Linked DNA regions of Homo sapiens: region 1 is linked to region 2. The links are contacts of gene promoters, found by promoter capture Hi-C in blood cells and fetal thymus (Javierre and others, 2016). All regions are on one chromosome and are shown on one strand. Each heading gives the region's core, a stretch centred on a gene start or on the middle of the fragment in contact. The rest is flanking DNA. Distances are from core to core; before and after follow the strand shown.

The links. The method cuts DNA at HindIII sites, captures the fragments that hold promoters and counts their contacts. A CHiCAGO score of 5 or more calls a contact.
Region 1: a contact is called between a fragment that was not itself captured here and the fragment with the promoter of PLSCR4 in region 2, in 1 of 17 cell types (erythroblasts). The highest score is 5.4, in erythroblasts.

Annotation. Positions count from the first base shown.
Region 1 is chr3:146,504,087-146,506,867 of GRCh38, forward strand. No RefSeq gene overlaps it. Among named protein-coding and RNA genes, the nearest start is that of PLSCR2, 36 kb to the left of the region's middle. RefSeq lists enhancers at 1-353, 1-40, 2,665-2,781. The HindIII fragment of the contact is 421 bases long and covers 1,234-1,654 here.
Region 2 is chr3:146,249,507-146,252,453 of GRCh38, forward strand. It overlaps PLSCR4 (phospholipid scramblase 4), which reads right to left and starts at 1,599. Exons shown (of 9, transcript NM_020353.3): 1 at 1,454-1,599. The HindIII fragment of the contact is 7,000 bases long and covers 1-2,646 here.

The DNA of each region.
Region 1 (2,781 bases), core at 194-2,693, 250 kb after region 2:
GGCGCCATCTCGGCTCATTGCAAGCTCTGCCTCCCGGGGTTCACGCCATTCTCCTGCCTCAGCCTCCCGGGTAGCTGGCACTACAGGCACCCGCCACCACACCTGGCTAATTTTTTTGTATTTTTAGTAGAGACGGGGTTTCACCGTGGTAGCCAGGATGGTGGCGATCTCCTGACCTCGTGATCCGCACCGCCTCAGCCTCCCAAAGTGCTGGGATTACAGGCGTGAGCCACCGAGCACGGCCGAATGCAAACATTCTTGATTCTCCTTCATTTCCCTCCTTGTTTTTTGTCTTTCTGACTGTATTCTCTTTGATAGTGTATTTAATATTTACTCAGTTGAATTAAGCTTATTTTAATTTACTTGTAAGTTAAGTTGATAACTTTCCCTAGTTTTGTTACTGGAAAGGGGTCCTGATCTAGACCCCAGGAGAAGAGTTCTTGGACCTCACTCAAGAAAGAATTAGAGGCAAGCCTATAGACTAAAGTGAAAGCAAGTTTATTAAGAAAGTAAAGGAATAAAACAATGGCTACTCCATAGATAGAGCAGTGGCATGGGCTACTTGACTTAGTATGCTTATAGTTATTTATCAATTATATCTCAACAAGGGGTGGATTATTCATGAGTTTCCTGGGAAAGAGGCGGGTAATTCCCAGAACTGAGAGTTCCTTCCCTTTTTTTATCACATAGGGTAACTTCCAGACATTTCCATGGCATTTGTAAACTGTCATGGTGCTGGTGGGGTCTTTTAGTATGCTAATGCATTATAATTAGCATATAATGAGCAGTGAGGAAGGCCAGAGATCACTTTCCTTGACATCTTGGTTTTGGTGGGTTTTGGCTGGCTTCTTTACCACGACCTGTTTTATGATCAAGGTCTTTGTGACTTGTGTCTTGAGCTACCTCCTGTGTCTTCCTTTGACTAAGAATGCCTAACCTCCTGGGAATGCAGCCCTGTAGGTCTCAGACTTACTTTATCCAGCCCCTATTCACAATAGAATTGCTCTGGTTCAAAGGCCTCTGACAGTCTCATATCACAGTGACTCTCCCACCTGCATCAATTCGTCCTATAAAGCATTACTTATTTAGGCACCACTTATATTAGGTAAGTATGTAAAATAAAAAAGTATTCTACAAATTATATAAACCAGTCATTTGTTAGGCCCACAAAACTTCAATACTTAACACTTACCCTTACAACTTCAGCTTTGTATCTTTTTTCTTCTATTAAAAAGCTTTAAAATCAAGTGGTTTTAAAACATGCACAGTGTAGCCTAAAATATTTTACATAAAATTAAAAAAATGTTGAGTAGGAAATGTATTTTAATTACAAAATTAGATACATCTTTAAAGTCTTATTTTGACTCCCATATTTCTTCTTTACCACAATATAACTTGCTTGTTTACAAACAAAACCAAAATTACTAAATAAATAATATATAGCTGTTAAAATACTAAAGGCTGATCTATTTTATCAGGATATTAAATTAACTCTGTGTCTTGCTCCTTCCTTTTGCCTGTTTTATGTTCCATCAATAAATTGCAGCTGTTTAAGGGGACCAGACCAGAATAACATTCAAGAGGAAATAAGCTGTCAGGAATATTTGAAGGGAATTGTTTATACAAAAATATTGAGCAACAGAATAGGAGAGTAAGCTTGGAAACAGATCCATAAATCTATGAAAAGTGGATGGCTGGCAAAAGTAGCAATACAAATCAGTAGAAAAGATGAACTCTTTGCTGTTATTGGAGCGATTAGCTGTTTGTATACAATAAAATTAGATATCTACTCATATATTAAAAAGTTCCAAATGGAGTAATGACCTATCTATGAAAAATAAACCTTCAAAACAAAAGAAAAAAAATACAAACCTTGAAAAAATGATATGATTTAAAATTTCTCTAGACAACAAAAATATTATTTCACAAATAAAGTGAATTAAAAGCCATATCCTGAGAGAAGATATTTACAATGCCTACAAACTTATAAAAGATTTGGTTGCATAAAAAGAAACTTCTACAAATTAATAAGAAAGTTGACAGCAAACAAATACAAAAATTACTAAAGTGTGCAAAAAGATGATTCACATTAGAGGAAACATGAACATCTAATTTTAACAAATGAAAACATACTCAACCTCACAATTTCATGCAGATGAAAACAAGAATGAGATTCCCAATTAAAAATATTGGGAATTCACCAAAACAAAACATAACCCAACAATACCAGATCTGATGGGGGATGTAAAGCTGTAGTGATGGTCATACACTGGTGTTTAGACAATAAATTGGTATGATTTATTTGGAGAGCAATATTACAATATTTCATAATGATGTTTAGACCCTTAGAAGCAGCAATTTTACTCATAAGGATAATCATAAATGCTTTTTTTGACATGAGCACAAGGATACATGTACAGAAATATTCATTGAAGTTGATTATAGAGGAAAGAGGAAAGTTGGCATATTATTCAGGGTTCTCCAGAGAAAGAGAACCAATAGGGGTAAAAAAAGTGAATATATACCGTGTGTGTGTGTGTGTGTGTGTGTGTGTGTGTGTGTGTGTAAACAAAAATTGTGGGAGGTCATTGTTTTGGAGTGAGCTCACGCACTAGACTCCAACAAACCAGATTAAACCACAATAGAGTCACTCATGCCAAATGTTACACAATCATACTGAAACTTTAAGGAAACAGACAGATCCCAAGCAGACCATTTTTTTCCCCTGAAAACAGGAAATTTCAATCTGATTGAGTCAGCATAATAAGGAAGTCCCTCTGC
Region 2 (2,947 bases), core at 349-2,848:
GGTCTACTGCACTGTCTTTTAATCACCACAGTTTTGTAACACCTTTTATTATATGAAGAAGTCTCCACTATATATATGTGTGTATGTATAATATTAAATGTTAAAATCATATATAATATATAAAATAAGACATAATTATATATTTTGTATTTTATTATTTGTAATATATTATACATAACGTTAATATGTTTGTTCTTCCACATGAGCTAAACAGTACAGTTAAAAACAGTAACAAAAATATTCAGTTAGGATTCTACTTATACGTTGTTTTAGAGAAATGATATCTTTACCTAGAAGAATGTTATGTATTTTATTGGATTCTCATACATACCTTTTTATATCTTCTTAAAAATAATTTCTCAATTGTGTGTTATTTCATGCCAAACTGAATTTTACTTTATTTTACTGTATTATCTAGTTTATGTATAAACATCAACTGACTTCTATAAATTAAGTATGATGCAATTGGAAACTTTGATAAATTCACTTATGCTTCCCATCAAATTTCAGTGTTTCCTATGGACATTAAGGTATACACTCACATCATGCATAAAGTGATAATATGTTCCCCTACCTGTTGTCACTCGCCCATAGAATTCACAACCATGTCACAGAGTGTAATGATTAGCATTCTTGTCTTTTTCAAATTTAATGGAAATGCTGCTAGTATTTCACAGCTATCCATGAGAGCAGATAGACAGATGGAGGTTGTGTTCTATTACTATTACAGGAGAATGCAATTTAAATTAGGCAATCTATTCCCCTTTAAGCAGTATCAAGTTTGGTGCATTATATCTTCACAAGTACTTATTTTGGTGGCTCCATTCTAAATGCAGTATAAAATTAAAAACTAAATTGTAGATCCTAAGAGAAGATAAGGCCACAAAATAAAATCCTAAGTCTTTAAATATGAACGTTTTTAAAAACAAATCAAGCACAGCCCCAAATCGCCCCAGTTTGCCAGAATTGGAAATAAGAGAGAGGGATTCTCTCCTGTCACCGCCTCCACTCGCTGAGCAATTAAAAAGTTACTATAAATAGCGTTTTTACCTGCGAGTGGCCTGGCCTGAGTCCGTGAGAGCCGCGCCGTAGAAACGCCAGAGACCCATGAGAAACCCAATCAAGCGAGACCTGTCACGCAGAGCGAAACGAAAGGGCCGCCCCCGTGAAGTGCAGCCAGGACCCCCATCCCTGGGCAGGAAACTGCTCGCTCCCAAACCCTCTGCGTCTGCAGTGCAGACGCGCGCCCGACACCACGGAACTTCTGCAACCACCTGAGGATGCGACGCGAGCGCAGTGTCCGGGAACTGCTAGCGCAGGACGCCGCGCAACCTCCGCGCCTGCCCGCAGGCACCGCGGCCTCGGGCCTCCCCTGACGACGCCCTCGGCCCCGCAGCCCGGGCGCCCGCGCCACCCTGTCCTGCTCTGCGCCCGCCTGTCCAGCCCCACTCACCGCCTGCCCCGCAGAATGCTGGGCACCGGGGACGCCAGACGCCGGGTCTAGTTGTACTGGCAGAGGAAAGGGAAAGGAAAGGAGGCAGGGAAGGGAGACGGAGAGGATTTTTCAAGTTATAAACAAAGTAAGCGCGCGGAAGGGAGGGCTAGGCGCGGGTTCTGGGGGCGGGTCCGGCACGCCTGGACCCTCCTTCCCCGCGCGCGGCTTCCCCGTCTCGGACCCCGCCCCGCGCTGGGAGAGCCGCCAGCCCGGGGGAGCGTCTTCCTGGAAGAGGTGGGGCACCCTGAAGTCCGCTGAAACCTAAAAGCCGAGGGGGAGGAAGAAATGAAGAAAATAAGTTGTCACTACTCTAATAAGAGGTGAAAGAAAAGATAAAAGCCAGCCCACGGTCACTTCCAATCAGAGGGGCAGGTTGCAGGGCCTGGGAAAGGGAGCTTTGTTCATAGATTACTGCGCCTAGAGAGAAAATGAAGAAACCCCTCTTTCTCAAGAGCCTTTTTTATTTTTTTATTTTTATTTTTGATACGGAGTCTCACTCTGTCGCCCAGGCTGGAGTGCAGTGGCGCGATCTCGGCTCACTGCAAGCTCCGCCTCCCAGGTTCAGGCCATTCTCCTGCCTCAGCCTCCCTAGCAGCTGGGACTACAGGCGCCCGCCACCACGCCCGGCTAATTTTTTGTATTTTTTACTAGAGACGGGGTTTCACCGTGTTAGCCAGGATGGTTTCGATCTCCTGACCTCGTGATCCGCCCGCCTCGGCCTCCAAAAGTGCTGGGATTACAGGCGTGAGCCACTGCACCCGGCCTCAAGAGCCTTTTTGATTTGCATTTGCGCCCACCCCCAGGTCCTTGGCTTGGTGATTTAGCCTTGGCAATGCCGTGCTGGCTGGAAACACTTGGGCATAGGGCCCAGAAATTCTGTTTTCTTTTCCACAGAATTGGGGGAGGCCAATTTGATCTTGGAGGGAAGGCGGGAGAGACGCCAATAAAGGGGAAAGGGAGCAGGTTGCCCATGTTTTCTGACATTGGGAGAAAAATGCCATTTGCTTATTACTGTTAGGCACAAATATTTCTTTCAGACCAATGGGATTCAGTTCTGTGGTGGTGCTTGGAGAGAAGCACAATACACTGACAGGAAGTGGGAGAACTGAAGGTCCTCTGACCTTATAAAGAATCAGAACTGGACAGAAGTAAGCTTGATTAAGCTCTGAGGAGTACTTGGCAGAACCCCATTGTGGGAGAAGGTTGGAAAGGGGAAGGGATGTGGGAGTGGAGTTCTAGAATTTTATATTTTTCTTTGTATGTGTGTTATTTGTTAATATTCATGTGAGAATAGATTAAAAAATTCATACTGTTCTTCTCAGTAATAATTGCACAGAACATTTCTCAGATGCAGACATAGTGTTTTACTGAAAGCATAAAACAAAGAAACTGGTGGTGAAACTAAATTATAATAGCATATGTTACTGTTGGGAGCAAGCCCCCCAAAATCTG